Linked DNA regions of Homo sapiens: region 1 is linked to region 2. The links are contacts of gene promoters, found by promoter capture Hi-C in human tissues and cell types (Jung and others, 2019). All regions are on one chromosome and are shown on one strand. Each heading gives the region's core, a stretch centred on a gene start or on the middle of the fragment in contact. The rest is flanking DNA. Distances are from core to core; before and after follow the strand shown. Region 1 has its middle 140 kb from the start of DAPK1. Region 2 holds the start of NXNL2 (nucleoredoxin like 2).

What was found. The method cuts DNA at HindIII sites, captures the fragments that hold promoters and counts their contacts. A contact is called where the count stands out against the background at its distance.
Region 1: a fragment that was not itself captured here is called in contact with the fragment with the promoter of NXNL2 in region 2 in 1 of the 25 tissues and cell types used here (dorsolateral prefrontal cortex).

The regions. Positions count from the first base shown.
Region 1 is chr9:87,357,678-87,363,504 of GRCh38, forward strand. No RefSeq gene overlaps it. Among named protein-coding and RNA genes, the nearest start is that of DAPK1, 140 kb to the right of the region's middle. The HindIII fragment of the contact is 7,043 bases long and covers 1-4,895 here.
Region 2 is chr9:88,532,693-88,538,086 of GRCh38, forward strand. NXNL2 (nucleoredoxin like 2) reads left to right here and starts at 2,486. Exons shown (of 2, transcript NM_001161625.2): 1 at 2,486-3,044. The coding sequence starts at 2,743. LOC105376134 (a long non-coding RNA gene) reads right to left here and starts at 1,848. Exons shown (of 2, transcript XR_007061653.1): 1 at 1,322-1,848. RefSeq lists enhancers at 2,272-3,106, 3,107-3,940. The HindIII fragment of the contact is 10,556 bases long and covers 1-5,394 here.

The DNA.
Region 1 (5,827 bases), core at 124-2,623, 1.2 Mb before region 2:
AAACAAACAAACAAAAACAAACAACAAACAAAAAACAAACAAAAAAAGAAATGCATTGAAACTACAGATCAATTCAAGGAGAGCTGACATCTTAACAATAAGATGAGTCTTACAATCCATGAACATGGTATATCTATTTATTTGAGCATTCTTTAATTTTTTTTTCAGTAATGTTTTGTAGTTTTCAGGTCTGGTGTATCTTTTGTAAGATTTACTCTTAAGTACCTTTTTATACTATGTAAATTGTGCTGTTTCTTTACTTACAATGAATGGGGTTTTTTGTTGCTAGTATTAATACATAGAAATAAAATTGACTTTTTATATTGATTTCTATATTGATTTTGAATAGCACATTATTATTAAGGTAAGAGTAGCAGTTCTAGCAGCATTTTGGAGATTTGGTAGAATTTTCTATATAGAAAATCATATTGTTAGCTAATACTAACAGTTTTACTTCTTCATTTCCAATTTTGCTACCATGCGTTTCATTCCTTTTTCCTTTTTTTTTTTTTTTTTTTTTGCCTTTTGCGAAGGCTTGACATTTTGAAAAAATTTTGAATAAAAGTAGTAAGACAGACATTTTTTACTTGCTTCTGATATTGGGGAGAAATATCAGTCTCTAAGTATTAAGTATGATGTTAGACATAGGTTTTTTATTAATCCCTTTACAAGGTTGAAAAAATTTGTTTCTATTTTGATTTTTGATTTTTGTCAAATGCCTTTTTGACATTTATTTAAATGATCATACAGTTTTCCTTTCTTAATCTATCAACATGGAAGATTACATCTACTGTTTTTTGAATATTAAACCAGCCTTGTTGTACTCATGGATTAAGAAATATTTGATCACGTCTTTTCAGGAGGCACAGCAAGATAGCCAAATAGAGGACTTCACTGATCATCCTCCCTAAAGGAACACCAAATCAAACAACTATCTATGCAAAAAGCAGCTTTGTAAGAACCAAAAATTAGGTGAGTGATCACAGTACCTGTTTTTAATTTTATATCCTTGACAGAGATGCTGAAAAGAGTAGAAAAGATAGTCTTGAATTACCAATGCCCCCCTCCCCCATCCTCCAGCAGCAGCCATGTGGCACAGAGAGAATCTGTGTGCTTGGGAGAGAGAAAGTGCAGTGACTGTGGGACTTTCCATTAAAACACAGTTCAGCTCTATGACAGCAGAAAGCACACTGGGCAGCACTCAGCCAGCACCTATAGAAGGAGAATTTGGACTGCCTTAACCAGAGGGGAATTGCCCATCCGAACAGTTGGAACGTGAGTTCTGGCAAGCCTCACCTCTGTGGACTAAAGTTCTCTGGGTCCTAAATAAACTTGCAAGGCAATCTAGGCCATAAGGACTATAATTCCTGGGCAAGTCCTGATACTGTGCTGGGTTCAGAGCCAGTGGACTTGGGGGCACATGATGTAGTGAGACACCAGCTGGAGAGGCAAAGAGAATGCTCCAGGCAGTACAGCTCGCAGCTCTGGGAGATATTCCTTTACTCTGCTTGAGGAGAGAAGAGGGAAGAGTAAAGAGAACTTTGTCTTGCAACTTGGATGCCAGCTCAGCCATAATATGATAGGGCACCAGGCAGAGTCCTGAGGCCTCCATTCCAGGCTCTAGCTCCTGAACATTTCTAGACACATGTTGGGCCAGAAGAGAGCCCACTGTCTTGAAGGGAAGGGCCCAGTCCCAACAGGATTCATCACCTGTGCACTAAAGAGCCCTTTGGCCCTGGATAATTGGCAGTGATACCTAGGCAGTACTCATCATGGGCTTTGGATGAGACTCAGAAATGTGTTGACTTTAGGCATGACCACCACATTCCCAGCTGTTGTGACTATGGGGAGAGATTCCTGCTGCTTGAGAAAAAGAGAGGGAAGAGTAGAAAGGACTTTGTCTTGCAGCTTAGGTAGAAGCTCAGCCACAGTGGAGTAGAAGACTGAGTGAGCTCCTGGGGTCTCTGATTTCAGGCCTTGGCTCTTGGATGGAATTTCTAGACCTGGCCTGGGAGCCCACAGCCTTCAAGGGAGAGTCCTAGAACTGGCAGCATTCACCTCAAGCTGATTAAAAAGCACTTGAGCCTTGAGAGTGAACATTCGTGGTGGCCAGGCAGTACTCATTGCAGGTCTGGGGTAGTGGTGGCCACAGGGGGAGACTCTTCTGCTTATGAAAAGAGGAGAGAAGAGTGGGAAGGACTTTGTCTTGTGGCTTGGATGCCAGCTCAGCTGCAGTAGAATAGAGTACCAAGTAGATTCCTAAGGTTTCTGACTACAGACCCTGGCTCCAAGATAACATCTCTAGACCTTCCCAAGGCCAGAGGGAACTTGCCATCCTGAAGGGAAGGAAACAAGCCTGGATTGCTTTGCCATCTACTGATGTAGAGCTCTAGAGCCTTGAGTGAACATAGGCAGTAGCCAGGCAGGGATTATCACAGGCATTGGGTGAGATCCAATGTTATGCTGGCTTCAGATCTGACCCAGCATAGTCCCAGTGGTGGCAACAGGGGTGTTTGTGTCACTCCTCCCCCAGCTCCAGGGAGCTCAGCACAGAGAGAGAGACTTTGTTTGTTTGGGACAAAGTAAAAGAAGAGAACAAGAGACTCTGCCTGGTAATCCAGAGAATTCTTCTGGATATTATCCAAGACCACCAAGGCAGTACCTCTACAAGTCTGCAAGAACCGCAGCATTACTGGGTTTGGGGTGCCCAGATATGGGTATAGTGACCAAAAACATAGATTACATAACACAAGTCCCTTTGAATACCTAGAACGCCTTCCCAAGGACTGGTACAAACAAGCCCAGACTACAAAGACTACAATAAATACTTAACTCTTCAATGCCCAGATACTGACAAACATCCACAAGCATGACCATCCAAGAAAACGTGACCTCATCAAACAAACTCAATAAGGCACCAGTAACCAATTCCAGAAAGACAGAGGTATGCAACCTTTCAGACAGAATTCAAAATAGCTGTTATAAGATAACTTAGTGAAATTTAAGATAACACAGAAAAGGAATTCAGAATCCTATCAGATAAATTTAACAAAGAGATTGAAATAATTAAGCAGAAATTCTGGTGTTGAAAAATGCAATTGACATACTGAAGAATGCATCAGCGTCTCTTAACAGCAGAGTTGATTAAGCAGAAGAAAGAATTAGTGAGCTTGAAGACAGCCTATTTGAAGATACACAGTCAGAAGAGACAAAAGAAAAAAATAAAAAGAAATGTTGCACACCTACGGGATCTAGAAAATATCTCTAAAGTTTAAATCTAAGAGTTATTGGCCTTAAAGAGAAGGTAAAGAGAGAGATCAGAGTAGGAAGTTTATTCAAAAGGATAATAACAGAGAATTTCCCAAACCTAGAGAAAGAAATCAATACTCAAGTAAAATAAAGTTATACAACCAAGCAGATTAAACCCAAATAAGACTACCTCAAGACATTTAATAATCATACTCCCAAAAGTCAAGGGTAAAGAAAGAATCATAAAAGCAGCAAAAGAAAAGAAGCAATTAACATACAACAGAGCTCCAAAACATCTGGCAGCAGACTTTTTTAGTAGAAACCTTAGAGGCCAGGAGAGAGTGGCATGACATATTTTAAGTGCTAAAGGAAAATAACTTTTGTCCTAGAAGAATATATGCAGTGAAAATTTCCTTTAGACATGAAGGAAAAAAAAGACTTTCCCAGACAAACAAAAGGTGATGAATTTTATCAACATCAGACCTGTCTTACAAGAAATGCTAAAAAGAGGTCTTCGATCTGAAAAAAAAGGACATTAATGAGCAATAAGAAATCATCTGAAGGTGCAAAACTCACTGGTAATAGTAAGTACACAGAAAAGCATGGAATATGATAACACTATAATGTGGTGTGTCTACTACTCACATCATGAGTAAAAAGAGTAAAAGATGAACTGATCAAAAATAATAATTACAACAGCTTTTCAAGACATAGTACAATAAGATAGAAATAGAAACAACAAAAAGTTAAAAAGCAGAGAGACAAAGTTATAGTGTACAGTTTTTATCAGTTTTCTCTTTGCTGGTTAGTTTGTTCATGCAATCAGTGTTAAGTTGTCATCAGTTTAAAATAATTGGTTATAAGATATTATTTGCAGGCCTCATGGTAACCTCAAATAAAAAAACATGCCACAGAAATTCTAGCTGGCTCTTTAAGGGAAAAAAAAGGAAAGAAAACATACAACAGATACACAGAAAATAAAAACAAGAAATTAAAATATACCACTAGAGGAAAATCACCTTCACTGAAAGAAAGACAGGAAGGAAGGAAAGAAGGAAGAACATAAAACAACCATAAAACAAATAAAATGGCAAGAGTAAGTTCTTGCTTATCAATAATAATATTGAATGTAAATGAATTAAATTCTCCAATCAAAAGACATAGTGACAGAATGGATTTAAAAAAAAAAAAAGACCCAGTGATCTGTTGCCTGCTAGAAACATACTTCACCTATAAAGACACACATAGACTGAAAGAAAGGGATGAAAAGACATTCCATGCAAAAGGAAACCAAAAAAAGATAAAGAGTTAACTATATTTATATCAGACAAAATAGATTTCAAGACAAAAACTATAAAAAAAGAAAAAGAAGGTCATCATATAATGATAAAGCAGTCAATTCAGCAAGAAAATATCACAATTGTAAATATATGCACCCAACAGTGGAGCACCCTGATATACAAAGTAAATGTTATTAGAGCTAAAGAGAGAGAGAGAGCCCCAGTATGATTATAGCCAGACATTTCAACACCCCACTTTCAGTATTAGACAGATCATTTAGACAGAAAATCAATAAAAAAACATCAGACTTAATCTACGCTATGGACCTTATGAATCTTATATGGACCTTATGCATCTACCCTGTGGACCTTATACATATTTAAAAAACACTTTAATGATTGCAGAATATACATTCTTCTCAGCACATGGATCATACTCAAGGATAGACCATAAGTTAGGTCACAAAACCAGTTTTGAAAAATTCAAAAAAATTGAAATTATATCAAATATTTTCTCTGATCACAATTAAATAAAACTAGAAATCAATAACAAGAGGAATTTTTTAAACTACACAAACAAGTGGAAACTAACCAATATGCTCCTGAATGACCAGTGGTCAATGAAGAAATTAAGAAGAAAATTGAAAAATTGATTGAAACAAATTATAATGGAAACACAACCTTTCAAAACCAGTGGAAGATAGCAAAAGCAGTACTAAAGGAAAAAGTTCACAGCTATAACTGTGAAAGGTACATCAAAAAGGTAGAAAGACCTCAAATAAACGACCTCACAATTCATCTTAAAGAACTAGAAAAGAAAGAGCAAACCAAAAAATTTGTAGGATAGAAATAATGAAGATCAGAGAAATAAATATAATTGAAACAAACAATACAAAAGATCAAGGAAACAAAAGCTGTTTTTTATAGACAAAATTAACAAACCTTTAGCTAGACTAAGAAAAAAAGGGAGAAGACCCAAATAAATAAAATCAGAGATGATAAGTAAACATTACAACCAAGCCCTCAGGACATTAAAGATCATTAGATCAACATCATTAGATCTTTAAAGTTGGCAACTATATGCCAATAAATTAGAAAAACTAAAAGAAATGGATAAATTCCTAGACACATGCAACCCACCAAGATTGAACCATGAAGAAATCCAAAATCTGAACAGGTCAATAATGAGAAACAAGATCAAAGCTGTAATAAAAAGTCTACCAGCAAAGAAAAAGCCAGGACCCAATGGCTTCACTGCTGATTTTTACCAAACATTTAAAGAACTAATACCAATCCTA
Region 2 (5,394 bases), core at 1,236-3,735:
GAGACCAGCCTGGCTAACATGATGAAACCCCGTCTCTACTAAAAATACAAAAATTAGCTGGGCGTGGTGGCACGCGCCAGTAATCCCAGCTACTCAGGAGGCTGAGGCGGGAGAATTGCTTGAACCCGGGAGGCGGAGGTTGCAGTGAGCCGAGATCACGCCATTGCACTCCAGCCTGGGCAACAAGAGCGAGACTCCATCTCAACCAACCAACCAAACCAAACCAAAATAAAACAAAACAAAAACCTGCGCCCCTCCTCATGGCTCTTCTTTTGGCATAGCACCTGCAAAATATCTTCCTTATTTATTGTTTGTGCCCGTTAGAACATAAGCTCCAGGCAGGCACAGGAGCAGGACTCAGGGGTCGGTGAACGTGACGGGAGTCCAAAGTCAGTGGGGGATCCATCTTGTCTTAGGAGAGCAAAGACCTTCTCTCTGTCCTCCCCAGTTCCATAGCTGGCTCTATGAAATTAACTGCCAACGGGCAGATGAACGGGGGGAACGGGAATACACATTTATTAATCTTTAATATCACCTGCATGGGGGCATTGCAGGAAACTAGGTGAAAACCCCCCAAACCAGTGAGCTTTGAGAGCTTCTAAAATTGGGGAACTGGAAGCTGGTGTAGGCCACTTAGGGGAGAGTAACTGATTTTTAGGAAAGATGCATAAGTCTTTATGAGTTTGTGACAAAGTTTGTCTAGGTGTGGTGTGGACTTCTGCTGTGATAAGAGTCCATCCTCCCGGGAGGGAATTTACGACAATCAGTTTCTTTTGGAGGTTCCGTCTTTAGACAGGTAAGGGGAGAACGTCTCTCTGCATTTGCTATTTTTCAAGTGCCTCTCGCTCAAAATAATCAATATACCAAAGCGGCATATTTTAGGATGGCATATTTTGGTTTCATTCACTGTCTTTAAGTTTTTGATATTTTGTTCATTATAAACTTTTTTTGCATTCATTTTGACTTTTTAAGATATTGTATTAAAACATTATTTACCTTGACTACTGAGTTTTTTTGTCGCGCCCTTAAATTTTGCCCCTATGCGAGTGCCTCGCTCGCTTGCCTCCTTCTAGCCCGGGTCTGGCAGGGAGTTGAAATTATTTTTCTCACTGCTGAATTCCCAGGGCCTACAACAGTGCTCGCCAAAAAATTAATACTCTTGGTTCTTCAAATAAAACATTCTGTAAGGACTGCTCCCAATTTCTTCCTGAACTTCACGAACCCTCCCAGCCAGGCCACAGGATGTCAGGGGCAAACACCCTGAACCAACGGAGCTCAGGTTCCCTACCACCCCGCCCAAGCCCGCTCCAAGCCCAATTACCCTTCCCCTTCCTCGTCGTCCCATCCTCCCTGATGCCTCTTCCAGGGTGCTGGGCCGCGCGGCAAGAGCTCCAAGGCAAGATTCAAATGCCCTGGGGAGACGGCTGCGGGACACCTGCGGCGGGGCCCGGCAGGGAGCGCGAGACTGGAAGAGAGGCCAGGAGGGAAGGAGAGCGACGCGGGGTTTTGGGGGAGGGGCTGCGTGGGGCGCTGAAGGGGAGCGCGAGGAGTGGGAGGAAGTGAAGGAGGAGGAAGAGCACGGTGTGGGGGAAGCGCAGGAGGCAATAGGTGGGGCGGGACGGAGGGCAGGGCGCTGCGTCGGGAGAAAGTGTAGAAGCGCTGGGGAGAGTGCCCACGACGGGAGAGCCCAGGGGCGCGAGGGCGCGGGAGTGTGGGCGGGGCGCAGTGGGGATGGGGGCGGGGGCGCGGGATGTGGTAGGGGGCGTAGTGGGGAGAGAGTGCAGGAGTGTGGGCAGGGCGCAGTGTGGGGAGGGTGCGGGAGTGTGAGCGGGGCGCAGTGGAGGGAGTGCAGGATGTGGGCTGGACAACCAGTGGGAGAGGGCGCGGGAGGTGGGCGGGGCGCAGTCGGGATGGGGGCGGGGGCGCGGGATGTCGGCGGGCCGCAGTGAGGGGGAGGGCGCGGGAGTGTGGGCGGGGCGCAGTGGGGGAGGGAGCGGGAGTGTGCGCGGGGCGCAGTGAGGGGAAACTGTGGAATGTGGGCGAGGCGCAGTTGGAGAAGAGTGCGGGGATGTGGGCGGGGCGCAGTGAGGGGAAACTGTGGAATGTGGGCGAGGCGCAGTTGGAGGAGAGTGCGGGGATGTGGGCGGGGTGCGGTGGGGGAGGGTGCGGAGATGTGGGCGGGGCGCAGTGGGTGGAGAGTGTAGGGATGTGGGCCCAGCGCAGTGGGGGACAGTGTGGGGATGCGGGCGAGGCGCAGTGGGGGCGGGGGCGGGGATGTGGGCGGGGCGCAGTGGGTGGAGAGTGCGGGATGTGGGCGGGGCGCAGTGGGTGGAGAGTGCGGAATGTGGGCGGGGCGCAGTTGGGGAGCTTGCGGGGAATGTGGGCGGGGCGCAGTGGTGGGAGGGCGCAGGAGTGTGGGCGGGGCGCAGTTGGGGGAGGGTGCAGAGACCTGAGGGCTTGAGGTTGCCTGGCTGGCCCCGCTCCCAGAGGCGGGTGCCGCGCTGTCGCCCAGGTATCTGGGGTCTCTGGTGTCTGAGTGTCTCATTGTCGGCGCGAACACAATTGCTCCAGCCACAGGCGAGGCCTGGCCAAGGTGTGGGCGCATCTGGGGCAGGTCTTGAGAGGTCCAGCGCCCGGTGGTGCGGACAGAGGCGGGGCACCGCGGCGCTCGCCGCCGCCTCCCCGCAGGTGATCATCCTCCTGCAGGTGTCCTCGGGTCTCAGGTGGCTGCGTGTCTGCGCCATGGTTGACATTCTGGGCGAGCGGCACCTGGTGACCTGTAAGGGCGCGACGGTGGAGGCCGAGGCGGCGCTGCAGAACAAGGTGGTGGCACTGTACTTCGCGGCGGCCCGGTGCGCGCCGAGCCGCGACTTCACGCCGCTGCTCTGCGACTTCTATACGGCGCTGGTGGCCGAGGCGCGGCGGCCCGCGCCCTTCGAAGTGGTCTTCGTGTCAGCCGACGGCAGCTCCCAGGAGATGCTGGACTTCATGCGCGAGCTGCATGGCGCCTGGCTGGCGCTGCCCTTCCACGACCCCTACCGGCAGTGAGTGGGGGTCCTGGGGGGGCGGGGGCCGCCCGGCACGTCTCCCCCATGTTCCCCCAGGCCTCCCCCTCTGCACTGGGGAGCTCTTTATGACGCCCCCCCCCAACACCTCCCCGTCTCTCGGTTCACGTCCGGACTCCGGTAAATCACACTCAGTCTCAGTTTCAACCTCTCTTGGAGACCAGGGAGGGTGCAGACCAGATTCGAAAACCCAGGGCATCGGCACCCCAAGGGGGCTCGTGGAGCATGGACGCGGGCGCGTTTCTGCCTGGGGTCTGGAGCTCCGGGAATCTGCATTGCGAAGGAGCTCCCAGTGGTGGTGATGCTGTGAGTTCGCGGGCTCGGCTCCGGGAACCGCCGGCCCAATCAGCCCTGGACTCCCGGCGCCGCTGCGTCATCCTCCCAGTTAGTGGGCAGGAAGCACAGGGACATGACCCGGTGTCTGGATGCGGGGATGAGGGATGACCCGCGAGGACATCAGCTCTGTGACAGGCACCCACAGTGCAGGCCGTGGTTGGTTTGCTGGGAGGGAGGGACGGGGGCTTCAAGGCTGGCAGGAACCCAGGTGCTGGCCACCTTTGCGGTTTCATTTTTACCGACACTGATGGAATTTCATCACTAGAGAAGCATAAAACTCATTACTATAAACTTTATTACTCTAACTGTTGCAAAGGAGGGGGTAGGGATTGGCAGAGAGGGGATTACAGGGATTGATTGTTCTGCTTTTGGGGTGGGTCTCCTGTGGTCTCCTATGGTGTAAGAGTCCAGACTTAGGTTTAAAGCAGGCCTCGTCAAGTATGTTGTCCTGGCCACCCCCTTCTAGGTACCAATGTGAATTTCTGGGTTTTGCTTTACAGCCTCACATTTCTGGAGATTATCATTAAGTTGTGGCATTACCCCCTAAACTGATTATCATGAGATGACATTCCTTCTGGAAAATGAAAACTGGAAGCTAACTTTGGAAAGTTTTGTAGATGAGTAATTAATGGGAAGAAATCTAATTATTCCCCCAAACATGATTTTTGGTGATTCCCAGTGAAAGAGGAGGCCCAGGCAGGGCACCGCCCAGCCTTCCAGGGGGGTAACCTGCTTCTGGGAGCCTCACTCACACCGGGACTCTGAAAGTTCTATTGATAATGAATCTCCAAGATGGGTGGTTCACTTTGCAAAAGGATTTCTTACAGAATCAGTTCAAGTGGTGCTTTTAAAAACAGGATTGGACTTGTTTAGTACTCAAGTTATTTGTAAGCTTTTGAAAGAACGCAGGTTTGAAAGCGAGAGACGATGGCAGTATCATTATAGTAATTAGGCACAAAGCTCTGGCCCAGCTCTGGGATTTACTTGCCAGGTGATGGCAGGCAAGGTATTTTATTGCTGAGCATATGATACATCACGTGGTTGTTGTCAGGGTTGAGCTGATCACATATGAGCTCATGTGTCCGCTGGTTATGTCCCAGCTCTCTAGTCTATTGCCCCATTTTACAGATGTGCCATTGAGGCATAGAGTTCAGTTCTCCTGGCTCTGAGGACCCTCTTTCTGCCGTGCCCTACTTCCTCACTGAGGGGGTGGTGAGTCTTGGTCCCCAGCGGCACACAGATTGGACTGGGGAGGTCATCGCTTGGGGCCATGGAGACTGCTCGTCTGTTTCTGATGCTCTGGTCAAGCCTGTGAGCTCCAGCTGGAGGCAGTGAGCTGCGTGACGTGGGTCAGCTGTGTGCTCCTATCTTCTCAGCCTGGCTGGCCTGGGAGGGATTTTTCTTTTTGTAAACTTAGCTGTTTGTCCCTACCCCTTTCCACACTGAACTTCCTTAACTCTGTTGTTGTCATGTGTAAGCTAGGTAGTGGGATATTCTGTGGGAATTGTTGGAGCTACGCCCTAAATTCTGCTTATCCTACGTCTACAGGACCTTGGTGTTCCCATCTGATTGGCTCTTGGTTCAAAGACCAATCCGGTTTAGCCATGCCTTGCTCCAACTCTCCGGGGGTTTCCTGAGTTTCCATTGCCCACAGGACAGAGCCAGACATGGTTCAGTGCCTGGCATCCCCAGGGAGTGTGTTTGGTGAGTAGTTGAAGCAAGTGAGCAAAAGACAGTTCTGCAGAGAGATTTGCTTGGCCACAGCCTGCTCCTGGCTGAGATGACAGACTAGAGTCAGGAGTTGCCATGGCAACCCAGAAGTGTGGTTTATGCCAGCAACAAGGATGTGGCTGTGTTAGTTGAAGGCAGGGACCAACGCTGGTTGCAACAGTGCTGAGGACAAGGAGGAACTGGGCTCTTGGATTTTCCCCAAATGCTTAAAGTCCTAAGTTATTACCATGACAACATTCTCTCCTCCAAAAGCAAGTTCTTT